Regions from separate parts of the Homo sapiens genome. Here all the other regions are linked to region 1. The links are contacts of gene promoters, found by promoter capture Hi-C in blood cells and fetal thymus (Javierre and others, 2016). All regions are on one chromosome and are shown on one strand. The core of a region is centred on a gene start or on the middle of the fragment in contact, and the rest is flanking DNA. Distances in the headings are between cores, read along the strand shown.

Evidence for each region. Contacts are between HindIII fragments. The CHiCAGO score rates a contact against its expected background, and 5 or more counts as called.
Region 2: a fragment that was not itself captured here is called in contact with the fragment with the promoter of FHIP1B in region 1 in 1 of 17 cell types (neutrophils); the score reaches 5.3 in neutrophils.
Region 3: a fragment that was not itself captured here is called in contact with the fragment with the promoter of FHIP1B in region 1 in 2 of 17 cell types (activated CD4 T cells and naive CD8 T cells); the score reaches 6.6 in activated CD4 T cells.

The regions. Positions count from the first base shown.
Region 1 is chr11:6,231,966-6,235,885 of GRCh38, reverse strand. FHIP1B (FHF complex subunit HOOK interacting protein 1B) reads left to right here and starts at 1,250. Exons shown (of 12, transcript NM_001098794.2): 1 at 1,250-1,342. It also overlaps a transcript of CNGA4 not described here. RefSeq lists enhancers at 836-915, 313-1,003 and silencers at 1,046-1,345, 1,526-1,575. The HindIII fragment of the contact is 4,704 bases long and covers 1-3,673 here.
Region 2 is chr11:5,596,890-5,600,809 of GRCh38, reverse strand. TRIM6 (tripartite motif containing 6) reads right to left here. Exons shown (of 8, transcript NM_001003818.3): 1 at 3,896-3,920. The coding sequence starts at 3,912. It overlaps TRIM6-TRIM34 (TRIM6-TRIM34 readthrough), which reads right to left. Exons shown (of 14, transcript NM_001003819.4): 1 at 3,896-3,920. The coding sequence starts at 3,912. It also overlaps a transcript of TRIM5 not described here. Among named protein-coding and RNA genes, the nearest start is that of TRIM6-TRIM34, 2.2 kb to the right of the region's middle. RefSeq lists enhancers at 157-451, 3,485-3,920. The HindIII fragment of the contact is 1,010 bases long and covers 2,047-3,056 here.
Region 3 is chr11:6,758,272-6,762,191 of GRCh38, reverse strand. No RefSeq gene overlaps it. Among named protein-coding and RNA genes, the nearest start is that of OR2AG2, 12 kb to the left of the region's middle. The HindIII fragment of the contact is 3,754 bases long and covers 233-3,920 here.

The DNA of each region.
Region 1 (3,920 bases), core at 1-2,500:
CTAACTGCAACCTCCGCCTCCCGGGTTCAAGCGATTCTCCTGCCCCAGCCTCCCAAGCAGCTGGGATTACAGGCGCGCGCCACTACGCCCAGTTAATTTTTGTATTTGTAGTAGGGACGGGGTTTCACTATGTTGGTCAGGCTGGTCTCGAACTCTTGACCTCGTGATCCGCCCGCCTCGGCCTCTCAAAGTGCTGGGATTACAGGCGTGAGCCACCGCGCCCAGCCGGTAAAGTACTTTTAAAACTACATGCCTTATCTGAAACTTCTATTTTTCTATTTTAGTTTATCTTACTCTTGCTTGTTTCCCAAGACTCGGCTTAGACACCGTCACCTCCCGGAAGTCTTCCCTAAGCTCCTTCACCGTACCTTCCTCTCATCCTCTATACATGCAAATCATGCTAAGTGCTGCTCCTAGGTGGCCCCCGTAGTAATGTACTTATTACACTACGCTGCAATTCTCTGAGGTCCTGGAGAGCAGAGGCCGGTTCTAATTGATCCGGAATCCAGCTGGGCATGCAGGCACTTATTCCGTGTTCCTTGACTAAGTGCTCAAGGGGTGACGGAGCAGCACAGCACAGCGGTGTTGGGGGAGCCAGGGGCAGTCACCGCTGGGGTACTAAAGTAGAGACCAAGCTATGCACGACGATGGAGCAAAATGAACTAGAGTGCCCGCAGTCAGCCCTCTCTAGGGCTCCACTTTTCCGCAGGCCCGGCCCACCTACTGATTCCTCCTCTCTTTTCGTGATAGCCTCGCCCCTCCACACCCACTCTTCCACTCCAAGCGTCTCCTGGAATCCATGGCCCCACCCCTTTCTCGCTCGTCTTTCTTCCGGCTCCATCTCTCCCAAGCCCCGCCCTTCTGATCTTTCCCTGCCTGTAAAAATCGCCTCTCCTTAGGTCCCGCCTTCTGCCCTCTGGTTCCACCTTTCCTTCCCGGGCTCCGCCTCCGCCCTGCCGGCCTCCACCTTCCCAGAGGCCTTCGCCTATGACACGCCGGAGTCCTTCTGAGGGGCGGGGTTTACGTACGAAGGGACGGAACCAAGAGGAGAGGCGGTGCTCCTCCCTCGGATAGCCGTCGGCGACCCCGCCCTTGCGTTTAGCCGTTGCCAGGAAACAAGCGTCCTTGCTCGGGTTTGGTCCGGCTCAGCCAATGAGCTGGCACGCCATTGCCCAGTCGTGCGACGCCGGGCGGTTGCGTGTGGTGCGCGGGGGCGCGGGCTGCGTGTGGCGCGGGGCGGGGCGCGGCTGGTGCGCTTGAGAAGCGATGGCGGCGGCCTGAACTCACCTAACACCGCAGCAGCAACCGGGCCCGGCCAGGTTCGGCGTTCCGTGAGTGAACGGTACGCATGGGCCAGAGGGCCTGGAGAGTCGTTTGTGGGGATGAGAGACTGGGAAAAGACGGTGACGGGTTTGGTTACTGTACTGGTTGTGAGGGGTTGGCAGGTGGTGAGGGTCCGGGTGTGAGTGTCTAAGATAGGGAAGGAGGGTGAGAGCTTACAGGTGAGTGGACAAATGAGGGGCTGTGAGAGGCTGGGTGCTTTCGGAGGTGCCAAGTTGAAGGGACTCCTGAACGCGGTTTACTAGGGCTGGGGCTACTGAGGGCTGGTGTGAAGGATACCCTGGGACTAGAGTGAGGGGTAAGGCCTGCGCGAGGAGAGAGAGAGTAAAAGGCGCAGGTGGGAGCCTGCGGGGTGGCGGCAAATTGGTGAGGGAGTTGAAGGCGAGGCATGGGAGGAGGGAATTAGGGCTTGTGAGACTTGGATAAAGGTGAGAGGTTGGTTCTGAGGCCTCCTTCGATGGACTGCCCTGTCCAGTGAGAGCAATAGTTTTAGACAAAGTAGGGCAGCTTAGATGGAAGTGTTGTGCACCTGACTCCTCTGCTCCCATGGACTTTCCATATTCTGGAGGACGAGAAAATGAAGGTGTCATAGGCAATAGTACTATGGTAATGAAAGTCATATTTGAGGCTCAGACTTCAACAGAGTAATCACAGAAACTTCAGTTCCTTCGAGTTCCTTCTCTGGACTGCATAGTTGAAGATGGGCCCTCTCATGAAGGGTTTTGCGCTGTGACAGCTTGTGTTTTCTCTCTACTTGCTTCTGGACAACCTTATTCCACTGTTGCTCCTTACCTGTGCTTAACTGTGGGTCTTTGATTGGATTGACCATATTCAGTTGCTAATTCTACTTTTATGGAGGTCATATGGTTTGCCCTATACAGTACTATATTTAGGATCCCAAACAGGATGGCCTTACTCTCCTTTCTTACAGTTGAATTTTTTAAAAAGCTAGTTTATATTATATTTAAAATGTGTGTTTGATGAGTTTTGACATGTGTACACATCTGTGAAATCATCATCAGTCTCAAGATACTGAACATTTTAGCCACCTGAAAATTTATCTCTTCCTCTCCACACCCTGTAGTTGGGTTCATCTTACTAGCATTCTTTTAGGTCCTCTTCTCCCCACCAACCCAAATGCACGTGAAATTCTGGAAAGTTGGTTTGGCATTCAGTGATAATGGCCACTTTCACACTACTAAATTTTCCTCTCTACTGCTAGTCAGCCATGGGGTTGGGACATCCTATTCTTTCCAGACTCAGAAAGAGTTAAGTCTTTCCTTAACTCTACAGTGGACAGGGAGAGACCATTTCCTGAGAATTAGACAGCCTCAGTCCCCATTCTTTTCCAGAGTCTTAGCTTCAGAGCCAACTCCTATATCCTGTGGTATATTCTCATTGCTTCTTTCTGGAGTCCAGACAGGCCTCCATATTGGTAGAACACTTGGCAACTTGCCCAGTCAGTCAGAACTTACAGTTCAGAGTTTAGAGTAGTGGTTCCTAAACACTGGACCAAGGACCCTGTACATGATAAAATTATCATCTATCCAAGATGGAGGGAGAGAAAGACAGTATGGTTATTCATGAAGATAAATTTATTCTCAGAGATTATCATTCCTATTCTTTTGGTGTTGCAGTGCTCTTTCGTTGATGCAGTAATGGTAACAGTAGATGGTGGGTTAAAAAAAAAAAGATCTAATTTACCCAAATAAAAAGTGTCAACCCAATTTTTAATTTTAAAAATTATTTCTATAGCTTTATGAACTTCAGAAATTTAAAGTGATGATGGTGTGGCTGTTGTATTAGGTTGAGGAAGCATACATTTATACAATGATTCTGTATAACTTAACATCTGAACAGCATTCATGCTTTACATAGGGATTTCAAATTTTATTATACTGATTTATATAGATACCTTGTAGACAAAGACAGGAACTTTCATTTTATAGATGAGAAATTAAATTCAGTAGCCAGAGATCATACAGGGATACAGTGGCAAGGCTGAACCCAGAATTTTGTCTCAGAGTGAGAGAGACTTTGGGAAAGAAGATTTATAATAGACACTGAAGGTGATGTGGGAGGATTTTTTAATGATTTGTAATTGTTCTATTTCCAAAAGACAGAAAAGGGACTGTGAGAGTGACATAGGGATGAAGGTTATGTTTAATGCTGTCGCAGTGACATTGGAACAGGTATATATAATACCTGGATCACATCTTGATAGTGGATCATATCATGATAGTGATAGGATGAATCAAATCAAATATTAGATGGTTCTTAGGGACTGTCTAAATCCTTGTTATAATGGAGAAAGCACTGGATTTGGTAAGCTTATTGTTTGCTATCCCAAACTCTGTTGAAATAGTAGTGCATTAAGTATAATGGATTTTGATTTGTATCATATAGTGAGTGGTAGTTCTGAGAGGATGAAACATACATGAGGATGATGATGTAGAGATAGAAACATGTTTAGGGTACTGTGTTAATCATTTATTCCATATCTGCTCTGTGCCAGGCACTCTACTAAGTGCTAGGAGAATGAATTCGTTTATTCATTCAACAAATACTTCTTCAACATA
Region 2 (3,920 bases), core at 1,302-3,801, 640 kb after region 1:
AGGCGTGACCTCGCTGTTCTGAACAGGCCACAGTGCGTAGGGAGCAGGCAGAATTCTCTAACTTGTCTTTGGCTGGTTTCCCAGCAAAAGTAAATGTACACTGATGTAAAAAACAGTCCGTGTGGGCCTCAACACAAGGCCCTGTAAATTGTACCAATTTACCCCCATCTTGAGGACCTGGTGGATTTAAAAAGTATATCAAACTGCCTCCCAATAACAACACTCCCCTTAGAAGAAAGGGCCTGAGAAAGTGTCTCAGATAAGGGTAAGAAAAAGTCATGGGATGTAAGCATAAGCCTCCTAGCGGCCCTGCTGGGGGATCTAGCGAGCCGAAAACAGGTTCTTGGCGCTGCCATCTAGTGTTCTGTGGTGCTTCTGCAAGTACTAGCCTGGCTCTTCAGCTTTGCCATGCTTAGCAGCAGCGATGCTCACAGCAAATATCTACAGAAAGCCCATTAGGTATTCAGCAAGAATTTAATTATTTTGTACATAATAACTCAATAATTCCACATAACAACATTATGAATGTCCCTTAAATCTCATCTCATAGTTGTATAAACTGGTATTTAGTAGATCTTTCAAGTGGCGGGGCCGGTGTTGAATGCAGATACGCAGGCTGCAGAGCTGGAGCTCTTATTACTCCCTTATATTCCTCATCTCCATAAAGGGTGCAAAATATAATTAACAAATTAATGAACTCTGTGCATCTAACTGGTAGTACTAATTGGTGTTACAGACGTATTTACCTATCATCTGAGAGTCTGTTTAACCAAATTAATCACACCTGTGGGAACTGCACTATTATTTCCTTTGTTAATATCTCCTACCATACCCACATCATCTCACTTAGCACACTGCACTATAAGGCTCTATTGCCTTTGATAATAGAGGCAATAGAGGCTCTAGAGGCAATAGAGGCTCTATTTATCTTCCAGGTGCCCCAGACCTTAGCACTGCAGCTAACACAGGAAATGATCAATTAACTTTATAATGGATTGAAAATTATAGCTTACTGCTGAGCTTATAGTTGGCCTTGATGTTGGCACTAGAGTATAGAAATAAATGTGCTATCTTATCAAAGTGTTACTGTTAAAAAATAATTGTGTTGGCCGGGCGCGGTGGCCCAAGCCTGTAATCCCAGCACTTTGGGAGGCTGAGGCAGGCGGATCACAAGGTCAGGAGATCGAGACCATCCTGGCTAACACGGTGAAACCCTGTCTCTACTAAAAATACAAAAATTTAGCTGGGTGTAGTGGCGGATGCCTGTAGTCCCAGCTACTCGGGAGGCTGAGGCAGGAGAATGGCGTGAACCCGGAAGGTGGAGCTTGCAGTGAGTCGAGATCGTGCCACTGCACTCCAGCCTGGGCGACAGAGCGAGACTCCGTCTCAAAATAAATAAATAAATAAATAAATAAATAAATAAATATAATAATTGTATTGGTATTATATTTTAATTGAAAGTCCAATTCCAATTCATCCTCCCCAACAAACACATGCACACTTTCATTTCAGGCAAAACTGTATTTAGCGTACCCAATTCTCTTGAAGGAGAACTACTGCCTCATAAATGCAATGTAGTAATAGTCCCAAACTGAAAAGAATCCATGACATCACTAACTGGTAAATGAACAAACTGTGGTGTATCCATACAGTGGCATATTACCAAACAATTAAACTGTTAATATATACAACAAGATAAATCTCAAAAGCATGCAAAGTGAAAGAACCCAAACATCAAATTTAAGTTATTGTATGATGCTATTTATGTGAAATCCTAGAAAAGAGAAAGCTATGGTATTTGAAAGTACATCAGTGGAAGCCAGGGCCCAGGAGTGGGAGAAAAGTTTGAACTGCAAAGGGCATAAGGAAATTTGAAGGGTGAATACATAAAGGGAAATGCCCTTTATGTATCATGATCATGGTGGTGGTTACACAGCTGACTGCAACTGTGAAAATTCACAGAACTGTATGCTTACAATTTGTAACTTACTAGATAGAACTCAATAAACTGACAGAAACAAAAAAATACAAGAAAAATTAAAAGCTTGGTTTCTGATCTTCTAAGCATAATGGAACTGTGTTGTCAAACATGTAGCCAGATATGGCTCTTGAGCATTTGAAGTGTGGCTACTCAGAAATGGGTTGCTTTAGGTACAAAATACACATTGGATTTTGAAGATTTAGTTTAAAAAAGTTAAAGGATCTTATTAATTTTTTTATGTTGATCACATGTCCTAATTGTATTTTGCATGTATTGGGTTAAATGAAATGTATTAAAATTAATTTCACCCGCTTATTTTTAATGAGGCTACTTGAGTATGTAACATTACATATGTGGCTTCATTCTATTTCTAGTTCATTATATGTCTTTTTCCTATCTAATATGCGCTGTAGATATTCATCTAATACTCTCTTTAGACAGAGAAAAATTCTTGAGCAGAAAAAAGATTTGTAAGAGTTGAGGTCTCTTGTCAAAGCTGAGGCTTGGGAAAGAAATTGTGAAGGAGGGGAGCATACAGTTAGCATAGGTGACCCTTGCCCACACACCAGCAAGCCCTGACTGCCCACTGCAGCTAAGTGCAGCCCAAGGGAGATATGGGAGGCTGCCAGTTTCCAACTGAGGCCAAGTCTCCAGAGCAGTGTGGACGGGCTGAGAGAAGGCATTCTGACTGTGAGGAGTGCAGACGAGAAGAGCCTGCAGTCCCAGAGCCCAGTGCATCAAATTAGCAGAAGAAAGAGCCCAAATTCACAACCAGGTGGGACCAATTAAATCAGAACCAGACGCCTGAAAAAGGTCTGCTAACTAGCAACACTGCAAGCACTTGGAGTTCTTTATGCAGAATCTCAGTCTTTCCTGGAATGATTCAGAATCTGCACTTTAATATTAAAGTTCTCTAGGTGATTCTTACGCACATTAAGGCTTCAGAAGCACTGCCTTAGATAAAGGACCTTCTTTCCCAGGTGGATACAATTTAGGGTGCAAAACAGCTAGAAGAGGGAGGGGGACAGAGAATGGCCTGCTATTTAGATACGAAGCATCTTTTAGAATGGAAGCTTGCATCGATATCAAAATGGCTTTCAGAATAAAAATCAGTGACTCAGCAGGGGATACTGGGGCTGGTGTAGGCTGGGGGTTCAGAGTTAGGAATGACAGAGCGGGCCCGTCCACCAGCTGGGAGCCCTAGTGAAAGTGGAATAAAATAGGTGGCAGTTGCATTTATAAGTGAGTTGGGCATGAGTTCTTGCACTTTAGGAATAACATTTTTTTTTATCTTTGTGTAGGGTTATATTTAACCTATTATCTGCAATTGATTATCTAACAGGACTCAATAAATATTTGAATTGGAACATAATCAGTTTCAAAACAAAAAATTTAATTTCCACTTCAAAAGAATTTCTACCCCCTGCATTTCAGAAACCTATAATTTAAAAATTGTTTTGATTGTGCATTTTTTTAAAGCTAGGCATGGAGTTTGCCAGTAATAATGACCATAATTTGTGTCAGGCAGCCTCCTACGTGTTTAAATCTGTCTCACTCAATCCTCACCAAAACTCTAAGATATACATATTACTCCGTCCATCTTATAGATGGAAGAAACTAAAGCTCAAAGAAGTCAAGTTAACAGTCTTCGGGCACACAGCCAGTGTCTGTCAGAGTCAGGATTTGAACACATGCAGTCTGGCTGCGGCATCTATGCTCCTAACCACACATTTCTGTCTCTATTGACTGACTGATTAAAATGTCTCTAACCTCAGTGGGGTCATTTGCAGTGAGAAAGAAAAAGAAATAAAGATATAATGAGTTCCGAAAGGGAAAGGACCTTATCTCTTTCACTGCCCTGTCACCTCTGCCAGAAGTGACAATAAGAGCCAGTCAACAGAACGGTAGACATACCTCTCTGACCCGCACATCTGGGGAA
Region 3 (3,920 bases), core at 860-3,359, 530 kb before region 1:
GGGCATTGCCCTCATTTGCTACAGTGTAAAACAATAAAGTTTATAACAATGAATTTCCAGAAGTATATTCTTAAATTTACTAGAATGTTCAAAAAGAAAAAGAAATAATTGAATGATGAGTCTGGTGGAGCAGACTCATAATTATCATGAACTCATAATAATATGAGTATATGAATAATAATATGCTCTAGTGGAGCAGACTCATAAATATTATGGTACATTATTTTAAGCTTACACTCCTTGACTCAACTTCCCAAAAGTTCAGTTAGATTATTGTCTCTATACTAATGTCATACCATAGAAATATTACCTGAAATCTAAAAATAAAACAATATTTGCCATGTACCTCCACATTCTAAACTGAGGTGCTACACCATTAGGGAGGACGTACATGGAGGTGATCAAGAGATGGCATACAAGCGTTAAGCCTTCAACTTTTTTAGGGTATGAAAGAGAGAGACAGTTGGAGGTTGGTGGAGAGGAATATTTGAAGTTATCTCTCAGAGTATTCTTTTACCCCTCCCTCCATAAGGAAAGAAGGAACTAATCTTAAGTTTGTTGATGAGAGATTGAAAAGTACTACTGGAGAACTTCGTGTCTCTTATCTGGAATTTGGTGAGTGCTAGAACAAGTACCTTCCTCACACATGCCCAAAGTAATTTATAGATTCAATGCTATCTCCATCAAGCTCTCATTAACTTTGTTCACAGAACTGGAAAAAACTACTTTAAATTTCATATGGAACCAAAAAAGAGGCCGCATGGCCAAGAAAATCCTAAACAAAAAGAACAAAGCTGGAGGCATCATGCTACCTGACTTTAAACTATACTGCAAGGCTAAAGTAACAAAAACAGCATGGTACTGGTACCAAAACAGATATCTAGACCAATGGAACAGAGAGGCCTCAGAAATAACACCACATGTCTACAACCATCTGATCTTTGACAAATCTGACAAAAACAAGTAATGGGGAAAGGATTCCCTGTTTAATAAAAGGTGTTGGGAAAACTAGCCATATGCGGACAACTGAAACTGGACCCCTTCCTTACACTTTATACAAAAATTAATTCAAGATGGATTAAAGACTTAAATGTTAGACCTAAAACCATAAAAACCCTAGAAGAAAACCTAGGCAATACCATTCGGGACATAGGCATGGGCAAAGACTTCATGACTAAAACACAAAAAGCAATGGCAACAAAAGCCAAAATTGACAAATGGGATCTAATTAAACTAAAGAGTTACTGCACAGCAAAAGAAACTATCATCAGAGTGAACATGCAACCTACAGAATAGGAGAAAATTTTTGCAATCTATCCATCTGACAAAGGGCTAATATACAGAATCTACAAAGAACTTAAACAAATTTACAAGAAAAAAAACAACCCCATCAAAAAGTGGATGAAGGATATGAACAGACACTTCTCAAAAGAAGACATTTATGCAGCCAACAAACGTAGGAAAAAAAGCTCATCATCACTGGTCATTAGAGAAATGCAAATCAAAACCACAATGAGATACCATCTCACCCCAGTTAGAATGGTGATCATTAAAAAGCCAGGCAACAACAGATGCTGAAGAGGATGTGGAGAAATAGGGACAATTTTACACTGTTGGTGGGAGTGTAAATTAGTTCAATGATTGTGGAATACAATGTGATGAGTCCTCAAAGATCTAGAACCAGAAATACCATTTGACCCAGCAATCCCATTACTGAGTATATACTCAAAGGATTATAAATTATTCTACTGTATAGACACGTGCACATGTATGTTTATTGCAGCACTATTCACAATAGCAAAGACTTGAAACCAACCCAAATGCCCATCAGTGATAGGCTGGATTAAGAAAATGTGGCACATATGCACCATGGAATACCATGCAGCCATGAAAACGATGTCCTTTGCAGGGACATGGATGATGCTGGAAACCATCATTCTCAGCAAACTAAGAACAGAAAACCAAACACCGCATGTTCTTACTCATAAGTGGGAGTTGAACAATGAGAACACATGGACATAGGGAGGTATCACACACTGGGGCCTGTCATGGGTGGGGGACTGGGGGAGGGATAGCATTAGGAGAAATACCTAAGGTAGGTGACGGGTTGATGGGTGCAGCAAACCACCATGGCATGTATATACCTATGTAACAAAACTGCACGTTCTGCACTGTACCCTAGAACTTAAAGTATAATAAAAAAATTTTTTTAACTGGTTGGTATTCTCTACTGAAGTTGAAGATATGTATATGCCATAACCAAGCAATTCTACTTGTTGTATATGCCTGACAGAAATGTGTGTATATGTGCACCAAAAGACATGTGCAAAACTATTTATAGCAACACTGTTTAAAATACCCCAAAGCTGAAAACAACCCACATGTTTGTTCATCAGCATAAAGGATAAATAAACTGTGATCTAGTCATACAATGCATTATACAACAAAGAAAATGAACTACGAGGCCAGGCGCAGTGGCTCACACCTGTAATTCCAGCACTTTGGGAGGCTGAGGCAGGCAGATCACACAGTCAGGAGCTCGAGATCAGCCTGGCCAACATGGTAAAACCTGTCTCTACTGAAAAAATGCAAATATTAGCTGGGCGTGGTGGCAGACGCCTGTAATCCCAGCTCTCAGGAGACTGAGGCAGGAGAATCATTTGAACCTGGGAGGCAGAGCTTGCAGTGAGCCGAGATCGTGCCATTGCAATCTATACTACAATGCTATAAACTATACTACAAGGCTAAAGTAACAAAAACAGCATGGTACTGGTACCAAAACAGATATATAGACCAATGGAACAGAGAGGAACTACAGCCTGGGTGACAAGGCGAGACTCTCAAAAAAAAAGAAAGAAAAGAAAATGAACCACAATAGCTCCATATAGTAACATGGATAAATCTTACAAACGTAATATTGAGTGAAGGAAGGCAGGCACAAAACATACATATTGTATCATTTCAATTGCCTGTCTAAGAAACATAACTGATGTATGGTGTTAAACTGCTTTTGGGGAGTGAGTGAAGGTATAGTGATTAGAAGAGGGCATAAGGAAAGAATACTGGGGTGTTGGTAATGCTCTGTAACTTGACCTGAATAGTGGTTACTGGAGTGTGTATGCCTTGTGCCAGATTCATTGAGCTGTACATATACATTCTGAGCATTTTTTAGTATTTGTATAACTGTTATATTTTAGCTTAAAAAAGTTATTAAAAAAAGATTAGCCACGTGTTTTGTAGTCATTTGACTCACTGAGGGCTAGTCTCTCTTTGAGTATGCTATTGATAAATAAATGTCCCCCAAAGATGTTCACATTCCTACTCCCCAGAACCTGTACATGGTACCTTAGATGGCAAAAAGGACTTTGTAGATGTGATTAAATTACCAATCTTGAGACAAGAAAATTATCCCGGATTATCCAGGTGGGTTCAATATAATCACAAGGGTCCTTATAAGAGGGAGGTAGCAGGGTCAGAGTTGGAACGATGCACCGAAACCCTTGAATGGCCATTGTTGGCTTTGAAGGTGGAAGGGGTCAGAAGTCTAGGAATGCAGGCAGTTTCTAGATGCAGGAAGGGCAAGGGAATGGATTTTACTGAGAGCCTTTAGAAGGAAGGAAGCCCTGCCAATACCTTGTTTTCGGCCCCATAAGACCTAATTTTGGACTTTAACCTCCAGAACTTAAGATAAATCTGTGGTTGTAAGCCACCAAATTGGTTGTAATTTGTTACAGCAGGAATAGAAAATTAACACAGTAGCTTACACATTGTGCTGGTCAGAGCACACTGCACATAATAGGTACTCTGCGAATGTGTATTGGATGAATGGACAAGCTCCCGACATGCCAGATTCTTAATTATGATGAAAGAATATTATAAATAAAGAAAGGTGTTTATGTCTGTGAGAATTCAAGACCGGT